Linked DNA regions of Homo sapiens: region 2 is linked to region 1. Evidence: promoter capture Hi-C in 16 types of primary human blood cells and fetal thymus (Javierre and others, 2016). All regions are on one chromosome and are shown on one strand. Each heading gives the region's core, a stretch centred on a gene start or on the middle of the fragment in contact. The rest is flanking DNA. Distances are from core to core; before and after follow the strand shown. Region 1 holds the start of EDN2 (endothelin 2). Region 2 overlaps HIVEP3 (HIVEP zinc finger 3).

Evidence for each region. Contacts are between HindIII fragments. The CHiCAGO score rates a contact against its expected background, and 5 or more counts as called.
Region 2: a fragment that was not itself captured here is called in contact with the fragment with the promoter of EDN2 in region 1 in 1 of 17 cell types (erythroblasts); the score reaches 5.1 in erythroblasts.

What each region holds. Positions count from the first base shown.
Region 1 is chr1:41,481,965-41,487,565 of GRCh38, forward strand. It overlaps EDN2 (endothelin 2), which reads right to left and starts at 2,719. Exons shown (of 5, transcript NM_001956.5): 1 at 2,574-2,719; 2 at 2,083-2,239; 3 at 502-624. The coding sequence starts at 2,637. RefSeq lists enhancers at 1-977, 3,826-5,025, 5,463-5,601. The HindIII fragment of the contact is 6,202 bases long and covers 1-5,601 here.
Region 2 is chr1:41,845,814-41,851,414 of GRCh38, forward strand. All of the region lies in intron 1 of HIVEP3 (HIVEP zinc finger 3), which reads right to left. Among named protein-coding and RNA genes, the nearest start is that of HIVEP3, 70 kb to the right of the region's middle. The HindIII fragment of the contact is 3,103 bases long and covers 1,524-4,626 here.

The DNA of each region.
Region 1 (5,601 bases), core at 1,469-3,968:
GCAAAGGCTCCCCAGCAACTCTGGGGCCACCCTGGGATGGTGACATGGCTTCCCAACTCCAGATGCCATTTCTTCCCCGAGCAAGCTCCAAAGTCCCCCTGAACCTCAGGTCGGAATCCAAAGCCCAGTAGGACTCGATCAGACAGACTCAGGCCCAAGGCCTGGCCCTCCTTCTGACAAGCTATGCAGCCTGACGTGTCCTGCCCCCTCTCTGGGCCTGAGCTGCCTCAGCTGTCACTGGCAGACTCTCTCCTGCCCAGGAGTGAGGACATGAGTGTTCCCAGAAGCCCCCAGAGCTGGGCACCGGGAGGCCCCCATGGGTGACTGGTTCCTGCAAGAAGGGATGGTGCCATGGACCCAAAGCAGCCTGTGGGCCCCTGGGTCGCTTCTCACCCCCAACTTGCCAGTTCGCTCCTCTGCTAGTCTCCCAGACACCTGCTCCCCAGGGCATGCCCGGGCTTGCAGCTACCCTATGCCCCTGCAGGCTGGGTGCCCACCTACCAGGGCCTTCGAAGGCAGAAGGTGGCACAGGCGGGGTCCCTGGCACTGGAGCACTGACAGCGCCTTGGCAGGGAGCGGCGCCGGCGTCTTGGCGGGTTTCCCAGGCCGTAAGGAGCTGTCTGTCTGTGGGCGGGCAGCCAGCAAGGTAGTGGTGTGGGGTGGAGAGAAAGAGAGAGAGAGAAAAAAATAAAGAGAGAGAGGATTAAATAAACCACAACCATTGGCAAGCAGGGACTGTCCACACTGCCCACTGGGACAGCCACCCATGCCAGCAGGGTGCCAATGAAAGGTGACCAGCCCTTGACCTCAAGAAGTCACACCACTGAAGTCACAGGCTACTCCACAAGGGTCCTGGTAGCCCTTGGCAAGACCCTCCCCTTCTCTGGGCCTGGCTTGGCTCACTGAGAGCTCCCAGCATGGGGGCAAGGAAATCTGTGATCCTACCTGAAGTTGGGAATTGGGAACCTCCTAGTCTCTCTCCCCTCTCAGACAGGCTGGTCCCCCTGTTCTCAAAGAAGGCTCTCAGCTAGCTCTGGAGGAAGGGCGGCCACTCCATCTCACAGAAGTAAACACAGGCTCATAGCTAAGCTGCCCCCATCTGGTCCCCACTTGCCTGGAGGGGTAACACATGTGCCTTAGAGGCTTGACTTGAAAGTGGGGTGTGTGTGTGTGTGTGTGTTCAGATGGGATTAATTTCAGATTCAGAGTCTGATCAAGCGGGCCAGGGGAATGGCAGGGGCCCTGTGGCTGGCTAGACCAGCACTTTCGAGTGACAGAGCTAATTTTAGATGGTGTGGTTGGAGTCGCAGTGACTCCAGGTAGACTCAGCACGCAGGGACTGGCAGGGTTCCCGCCCTAAGCAAGTGTTTGGATGCGGATTAGCTTCACACACGCTTACGTGCAGGGCTTCTCTTGCCTTTTGCAATTTGGGGAGGGGAAAAAATCACAAACACACACAGAAACTTCAACTGAAGGTATGCAGTGGCCTGGAGGCAGTGCGGGTGCAGGCGGAACAGACAGCACGGGGCTCCCACCCGGGTGTAGCCAGTAGCACAGGGCAGGTTCTCATCTGTCGTTTGAGGGACTATCCTGCCTTATGGGGAGGATGGGGGGGCTCCTGAGATGATCATGCACGTGCAGTGCTTGGCAAAGAGCCTGGCATAGTCAAAGCACGGGTGCTGTCACTAATCGTATTATTATTGGAAGAGCATGCAGAGGCAGCATGACAGAGACTGTGAGCTCCGGCATTCCCCAACCGAGGATGGTGCCTACCCTTACAATTACCTGTGTGATCTTGGGGGAGGCGCTTAAGCTCTCTGAGCCTCAGCACTTGAATCTGGAAAACGGGGCCAACACTTGCTTACCAGGCTGTCTTAAGAATTCTCAGAAGACAGCCCTCTCTATGGCTCAGGTGGTCCCCACTCAGGAATTGAAACAATTAACTATTGATATTAGCCAGTGCCTCCATCTGGAGGCCCAGGGAGAGATGGAATGTGTCAACGTTCCCTAGCATGCCAGTAGCTTCCACCCTGACACCCTGCCCCAGAGCTCCCCCTGCCCCCAATCCCCATGGATGCTCACTCAGGAGTGTTCACCCAGATGATGTCCAAGTGGCAGAAGTAGACGCACTCCTTGTCGAGCCAGGAGCTGCAGGAGCAACGGCGAAGCCGAAGGTGGGTGCCTTGGGCATGAGATGAGGACGCTGGCTGCTCCAGGGTGGCAGCAGCCTGGCCCTTCCCTGCATGCACAGGAGGGAGAGAGAGGTGGAGAGGTGGGTTGGGGTGCCTGGCACATCCCAGAGTGGGGGACCCACCATGCCCCTCCTCTTGCATAATCGAGGGAGTTGGCACTCTTGCTGCTCAAGAGCTCCAGGCCAGCCCAGGGAAGTCCCAGCAGCCCGTGGGGAGCCTGGGCACCTCTGTATTTGCAGAACCTTTCCCCTGCCACCACTGCCGCCAGGCTCCCGCCCCTGTCTGCCCCCAGCTGGCTTGGGAGGCACTGCAGCCCTAGAGGGAGACAGAGATAGGCAGACCCAGGAGCTGTAGGCAGCAGGTGAGGCCAGGGCAGCTCACCTTCATGCAGGGCCACGAGCAGGGCTAGCGCAACGGAGCACCAGGTGGTAGGCACGGAGACCATAGCGGCGGTGGAGCGCGCAGGCTGGACTGGAGCAGGGAGTGCCTGTTGCCAGCGTCCTGCTATTAAGCTGAGCAGATAGCTCATTGCCTCGGTGCCCTGGCTGCCTCTTATACCAGGCACGGTGCCCCACCCCTTCTGGTCCAGCCCTGCCCCGCTGCACCGGCGGGCTGGGAGCCAGGGACACCGCCTCCTCCCCGGGCGCCTGGCCCGACCCAGCCTCTGCAGTGAAGGGGGGAGGGAGATGGAAGGCCCATTCCTCCCTCTGTGCCTGGAGCACCTCTGGGAGTCCTGAGGCTCCCTGGCAGTCCCCAGGGGCCCCTCGCAGTCCAGCTGGACTTCCTCAAGTCACCCCCAGCTGCCCCGAGCCCCCTCCCTCACTCTGTTGGCGGCTGCTCCACAGGTCTCGCCCAGGGCTGTGAGTGTGGAGGAGGAGGTTCCATGAGCAAAACCCCTCTCCTCGGAGAAGACTCTGCCATCTATCCTGCCTGCCCTCTGCCAACCAGGCTGAGGATGCCCCTCTGTTGTGTGGGATGTGAAAGGCCCACGCAAGGCTGTGTGGCCTTGGGCGAGTCAGAGCCCTCTCTGGGCCTGCCTCCCTCTGTGAAGGACACAGCTCATGCCTGACTTCTGACCAGCCTGGAACTGCTTCATCCCCACCTCACCCAGGAAATGCCCCCCTCAACCCCTGCCCTGTCACCCCAGGGCCTGGGGCAGGAGTTCTAGTCCCTTCCAGAAGCTGTTCAGCTATGCAGCCATGGCCAAGGGCATCCTTCCTGGGCCTGTTTCCTTGTTTGCAAACAAGGCCAAAACAAGAAGGTACTTCACCTGCTTGGCTTACAGGCTCCTTTGAGACTAAGAAGGTGGCTTCAGACCCCTTTCCAGAAAGATGTCCCTGAGGACACACACACAAAGCGCCCCTTGAACAGTCTCCTGTCCTGGCCATGACAGGATGTCTTGGCTTCCACCGGGGGCTACTGTCTGCAAAAGAAGTAAGCCAGGGGACTTCTCTGGGGACTGGCATTCTGCTCCTGCCCCTCTGCTGGCCCAGAAGCCTTGCCGGGGAGGGGAAAGCAGGGATGAACCACAGCTGTGCTGAGCAGCTCAGGGAACCGGCAGGCACCCTCTGTTCCTGCCCTGGCTGAGAGTCCACTTCCTGCTGGAGTCTTCTCAGGGACCCTGTCTCCAGGCACAACAGGAAAGGCCCTCTCGTTTCTTGGAATTCCCAGGGCCTGTGCCTCTCGTGCCTGCCTGACTCATCCCATTGCACTTATCTCCCCTGCAATCTCAAGGTCCAGAGCCCCAGAGGAGGCAGGGCCTGACACCTACCCTGCACACAGTAGGGGCCTTGCGAGTGCTTCCTGAGGGCAGGGGGGTCAAGAGATGCACACCTGGCTTTCCACTTACAGAACCCAGGATGCCCAATGCTCAGTTCCTGTATTCAGCAGCTCCTTTGTCCTTGGACATTTATGAAGGGGACAGTAGGTGACCACCAGGAACAGGCAAGTTTGCATCTTCCTAGGGTGTGCCCAGAGCAAGCGTGCATGTGTGAAATCCTGGAGAAACTGGCAGAACTGATGGAGGGTGAGAGCAGGATCTTCCTTCCTGGAGACTGAGCTGGCTCCTGTGAAAAAAACAAACAAATGTTTCCTGAGCACCTACTACGTGCTTGGAGCACTATCGACTCTTCCTCACCACAACCCCAGGAGGCAGCTATTATCACAGGGGAGTCAGCTCAGGACTGCCCACGAGGCTCAGAGAGGAGCAGGGCCTGGTCAAGGCCACCCAGCGGGCAGGTGGCTTGGTCTATCAAGCAAAGCACAAGGGACTCCCCGTGAGGTGCTCTCTGCCCTCCCACGTCGTGCCTCTCGAAGAATTTAGAAGAGTATTTCTGGAATGAGGTGAGCAATACTCACAGTCATTTCTATCAGCCTCTGCAAGAATATGAATACGGAATTAAGCAGGGCTGGGGGCTGCTTGGGGGTGGATAGAGAATTCAAATCGCTGGACCGTGAAGAGAAGAAAGAAGGAAAAGCAGGTCAGCGGGGAGACGGAGGGGGTCACGGTGGGGAGGAAAACAAACAGGGAGGCAGATAAAGACAGGCAGGGAGAGAGGGGGAGAATGAGGAAGCAGTGCGTAGCCAGAAAGAAAGAACTCAGATTTGAGAAAGTAAAAGAGGGAAACCATAGGGAGAAGAGGGAAGGTTATAAAGCGTCTAATCTTTACACAAATGCAAAACGCCTGCTCAAGACAATAGGGAACCAGAGGCTCCGAGCCGGGGAAACATAATAGAAGCATTAAATGAACCCAGAGACAGGATCCCTCCCGGGTGTGAAAGAAGGGTGACTACAAGGCAGGGGCTGCTGCCCGAGCCCCGCAGGGTCAGCACAGCCAGCTGCGAGCTGGGCCGGGCTCCGGTTTCTCTCCTTCTCTGCCCTCTGCCTGAGCTGAACAAGCAGGGCTCCTGTGAAATGGAGAGGACTGGCCCAGGAACCTAAGCGAGCACAGATCTTAGGGGATGAAGCCATTCCCGGAACAGCGCTGCTCCACTGACAAGAGTTAGTTTCCAGGTAGGGAAAATTAAGCTGAGTTAAAAATAGCCCCATCTCCCTGGGTCGCTTAGCCTGGGCCTCTGTCCGTTGCCTCTGCCCCTCGTGGCTGGTCGGACTGCATGACCCTGCCACCTATAACTGTCCTGGCCTCACTGTCCCTGTCCTTTCTAGGTGGCCTGGCTTCACGACCCCCTGGCCCCACTTCTCTGGCCCTGGCACCTGCCCGAGTTTGTTGAGGCTGCAGGGGGAAGGGCAGGGAGCCACCGAAGGTCACCCTCTCAGAATTTGAAGAGAATTGCTTTACTCGCTAAGCGATTTGTTTCCCTTATGCTTGCAGCAGCCCAATCCAAGAAAGAGGGATGTATGGGGAGGGAGGGCTGGCAGAAGAGAGCAGTTGAGTGTATTTCTGAGTCA
Region 2 (5,601 bases), core at 1,825-4,324, 360 kb after region 1:
CCCAGCACTTTGGGAGGCCGAGGCAGGTGGATCACCTGAGGTCAGGAGTTCAAGACCAGCCTGGCCAACATGGTGAAACCCCATCTCTATGAAAAATACAAAAATTAGCCAGGCATGGTGGTTGGTGCCTGTAGTCCCAACTACTCTGGAGGCTGAGGCAGGAGAATTGCTTGAACCCGGGAGACAGTTGCAGTGAGCCAAGATTGCGCCGCTGCATTCCAGCCTGGGCAACAGAGTGAGACTCCATCTCAAAAAGAAATAATAAATAAAAAGTAAACTGGAAAAACCAACGCACGAATAACATTCATTCCTCAGCTCTCGTCCTCACATCATCTTAATACAAATTTTTCAGGGTGACGGTCACTAGAATGCTGTCAGCCCTGGATTAGATAGTGAAATATGGTAACATTCTCCTTTTCTCTCATCCCCCAATTTTCTGAAATGTGCATGTTACTTTTACAATGAAATATTTGAAAAAGTTTCCATTGTGCAGAAGGATATGAATTAATGCAAATTTCCCTACATACATAAAACATGGAGACTTTGTTTCAACTCATGAATCCATTTACCTTTCATTCTGTTAACTCCTGTTGGATTTTTCATTTAATAGATTTCAGAGGAAGTTGTCTAAGATGGTGCCAGGTCACCAGAGGTGCCAATGCAGGACACAGGCAATGCCGTCAAGGTTGTATCCGGTGAGGATGACCACAAGCAAGCCAGGCTCATAGCCTAAAGGATACACCTGAACGTGTTCGCTGTGAGGAATGGGCCAGAGGATTATGTGATGTTTCATATTTTTTCCTTGGGACTTTCAGATTTTTCCAAGTTTTCTGCCCTGAGATGCATTACTGAACTTCTGTTTTTCCTCTTACTACACTGTGAAGTAAATGTGTGTGATGAGTCACTGGCCTTTGCCAGGCTGTGATCTTCCCAAGAATGAAGTCCCTATTTAATTCATCTTTGTCTTCTCAGCCTCTTGCCTGGTGCCTTGCAACAGCGGCTCCTCCATAGATGGGTAATGAAAGAATGAACAAATGACTGTTTCTCAGCATCCAATGAGCACTCATGGGATATAGCCACATACTAACCCCAAAGAGACAACACCACTCCCTCATTCACTGCCTGCTCACCTCAGTCATCATTCATGGGTATTCCCTGTTCCAGGCAAGGCAACGGAAGCCAGAGCCACCCAAGTGTGGCTATATAAAGGCATCCAGGAAAGGGCATATGTGGCCTTCCCAGCAACCTAGTCTCTCATGCATTTGGGTTCTGAGCAGTTAATGCTGGCTCCATACTTTGACATCTTTGTAACTTTTGCAAATTTTCTTTTGATTCTTTTCTGGGGATTCATCTTAAGGAAATAATTAGTCATAGGAAGAGGAAACTAAAACCACATTTATTAATGCTGTTTAGGTGGAGAAAAGTTGGAAACAACCTAAACATCAAACCATAAGAGATGAGGTAAACAAAGGATGCTGTAGCTATGTAAATGAGTACTCTTACATTACAATTGCTGTAAACTAAGCTTGTTGCTCTAGAAAGTTGTTCATATAAGATATTAAGTGCCAACGTGTTTTATGAAAGACTATACATGATATTGTGACACTACACTTACATTAAAATATATGTGTACATATTATATATGTATGATACTATATGACTAAATGATCATCTTGTCTTTGGGGTAAGTAGGATTTGGAAGTAGCTTTTTCTTCTTTTTATTTGTCTACACTTCCAAAGTTTTTGTAACAAGCATGTGCTGCTTTGCAATAATGAAAAATAGCAATGCTAACATTTAACTGAAAAAAGAAAAGCACAATTATCCTGGAGTAGGGCAGGCACTAAAAAGGCGGGAGTAAGAGCGATGAGAGTAGAACGCTGAGCTGAGGCTGGCCTCCTTCACGGCCACCTTCCTCCAGGGGTGGATCCGTGTTCCAGTCACCTCCAAACACACAAAGATGTCAGTGCCACAGACCATACTTTCTCTCACACATCCAGTCAAAGCACCAGGAGGGGACAGAGTCACCACAGTGCAAGTCTCAGCTGGGATTGGGCAGGGGAGAGGAGAAGGGCATCAAGGAGCTGACCAGGAGACACACTGATCTGGCCAGGCAGCCTCTTGCAGAAGTGGATCCCGTTAACAATGAAACAGATATGACATGAACTTGGCAACTTCTGAGAACAGGAATGTCTAGTGGTGCTTCTAGCCTAAAGTGACCCAGTTTCAGATAAGACAGTTTAATCCAGAACTCAGAGGGAGAAAAGATTAATATTTTCTCCTAGGGAAGGATACCCAGAGCTACCACAGCTGAAATGGGAATAACATGCTTAAAGGTGGATATGAGATGGCCAAAGTCCCATGAGGAATGGCCTCCAGGTATGATGATGAAATCCAGTGCAGGAGGGAAGGTCTCTTCTCATAGTATCCAATTGCAAAACTGGTCAAAATTCAACCATTTTCTCAGGGTTATTCTAAAAGCTGTTGGACTTGTACTGCTTCTTTGGCTTCTCTGGCTCTTGTTCCAGCTTTTGCAGTTACAAAATGAGAAAGACCTCGCTGTGCTGTCCTCCATTCAGTGGGTTCTGGATGGATTGCCAGATGATGTGAAGGGCTCTTGGTCATGGCTGGTACCTGCAAACACGGAGAGTGCTTATCACCATTGGACTCTACTGTGCCATTTCCATCATGTCAATCATGGATAGACATGAGATAAGGAGGATGGAATCGGCAGTGGGCAGGACACAATAGGAAGCGAGGGAGGGGAGAGGGCAACAGGGTGGAAGGGTAGAGAGAATTGCAGGAAGAAGGAGGGACCCAGGAATGGCCCAACATCCTCAGAGATGAAAGATTACAGAAAGAGGGCAGAAGGCGAGAGCAGAGAGGCCATGCCAGCTTGGGCTGGAGCAGTCAGATTCCTCACCACACCCTTGTCCCTGCTGTGCCCATCTGCTGCCCTTTCTTTGCCTTCTGGCCCTGTAGGAGCCATCCCAGCCCCACATCCCAAGCCCTACCTGTGACTACCCCTCCCCTAAGCCCTACCAGAGAAATGAACTTACTTCTACCCTTCGTGGGCCGCATGCCTCCAGCTCCAGCTCTTCTTGGGGCTCCAGAGTGTGCCAGTTTCCCTTCAAGCACCAGTGTCCTCAACCTCTGGCATGGTATTGGAATCTGTGCCTTCAGAACCTCCTTTCTTCCCATTCTTCAGGACGTTTGTCCCTCGACTGGACAAGATCCAGCAGGAGTGGGCAACACAGGAACAAATCCGAGACACCAGACTGAGAGGGACAGGAAGGGGAAACACGGGGCAGTCCTGGGTGATCTGGACCATCTGGTCACCTCATTCTAGTTCACGAGTGGACATTTAGATAAGGGAAACCAAACTGAATCAGAACTCTAAACTCAGTGTGCAGCAGGGTCACCAGATTGCTTATTCTATGGCACCTGAGACCTTTCATCACCACTGATCTTCACGACAGATGCACGCAGATATATCTACCAAGGACTTAGAAACCCAAGACAGTTTCATACTTTAAAAATGTGTGGAAACTAACCATGCACAAACTTCTCCAATTACATCAGTCTCCCCAGAAGCACATCCAACAGCACTCTGTCACAACTTCTGGAAGCAGCCTGCCTCCTTGCTAACCCCTCCTCCATGCAGATGCTCACCTAGAGGAGTGGATGGGACATAATACCAAGGAGGAGAGTGTGGGTCCAGTCCTAGCACAGGCCAGGAACATTTTCTGCTTTAGAGTCACAGGACTGTTCACCAAGCCAAGCTGAATAAACATCTTATTGCAATATTTGCACAGACATGCAACTACTTGCTGTGACCATGACAGTGACTGGAATGTAAGGATCCATCAGTGGTAGACCCAAATCTTTTTTTTTTTTTTTTCCAAGTCTTGCCCTGTCGCCCAGGCTGGAGTGCAATGGCGCAATCTCGGCTCACTGCAACCTCTGCCTCCTGGGTTCAAGCAATTCTCCTGCCTCACCCTCCCGAGTATCTGGGACTACAGGCATGCACCACCATGCCCAGCTAATTTTTGTATTTTTAGTAGACATGGGGTTTCACCATGTTGGCCAGGCTGGTCTCAAACTCCTGACCTTGGGATCCACCCACCTTGGCCTCCTAAAGTGCTGGGATTACAGGCATGAGACACCACGCCTGGCCGGTAGACCCAAATCTTAAAGCACATACTCTACTCTAGTGGTTCCTAAACTTTAGCATGCATCAGAATCATTTGTAGACTTTGTTAAAACACAGAGTTTTGGTTACACTCCTACGGTTTTTTAATCAGTAGGTCTGGGGTGGAGGCTGACAGCTAGAGTTTCTAACAAGTTCCCAAGCCCAGCTATTGCTGGTCCAGAGACCACACTTTGAGAACCACTGGTCTACCACCAACAGTGTTCAATAGTATCACCTGTCTTATATCAAAGGAACCACTAATGACTCACTCGCACTCAGCCCTGTAACCTCATCCAAAGCAGAGGCACAGAAAAGGCCACCACACACACAAAGAAAAACTGTTTACAAAATGTTTTTATTTTAAGGTTAAGAATAAAAGGAGCCTTAGGGTTCATATAATCTAACTACCTCACTTAATATAATATTAATTAAACTAAGCTTAGAGAGGGTAACTTGCACACAGAAACAATGAAACAATCAATAGAACCCAAACCAGGAACCCCAGCAGCACTACTCTCAAAATCGCAAACGTGGAGTCCTAGAAAATCTCCTAATTTTTGTCGTCATTAGAGTCACAAGGCTCAAGAGTCTGCAACTGGCAAATTAGGGCTTCCCCTTCTGGTCCTCCATGCCGAAGCACTCAGGCCATGCCATGGTCATTTCTTAGTAAGGCTATGATGGAAGCAATTCTTGGTTCCCTCCAAGTTCAACTGTGAGTCCACTGCCTAGAACTCAGAACTGGTTTTCTCAGAAATCCCATAGCACACGTGGAGGGTTCCTGGGAGAACTCTTCCTACTAGGCACCACATTGTTGAACTGCAGTGATGATAGCCCACAGGATCTAACCATCATGAAGAATATAATTTCCTAAAATTCCATTCTGAGTTTCAACTTGGACCTGTGCTGGTCCCTCTTCCTGGAAAACTGCTGCCCCAGTTTTCTCATGTCAGGCTCCTTCTGTATGTTTCCTCTTGCAGAGTATCTCCTGATCATCTACCCAAGTAGTTCTCACTCCCCTCCTGCCAGTTACACTGCATCTCATCAGCCTTCTCTACACTCCTTATAGCCCTAGAACTATATAAAACATTTGTTCATCATCTACTTGCTCATTACCCCCTGAAAGTAGGATGTGAGCTTCGAGAGGGCAGGAACTTTACCTTTCTGTCTACCACTATAACCGCAGCACCTAGAACAGTGCTTGGGACACAGCAGATTCTCTATACATATCTGTCTAATGAACAAATGAATGTACAGAAGAATGATGAGAGAGCACCTTCTTCTTCTTCTTTTTTTTTTTTTTTTTTTTTTTTTTTTTTTTGAGACAGAGTCTTGCTCTGTTGCCAGGCTGGCGTGTAGTGGCATGATGTTGGCTCACTGCAACATCTGCCTCCTGGATTCAAGCAATTCTCCT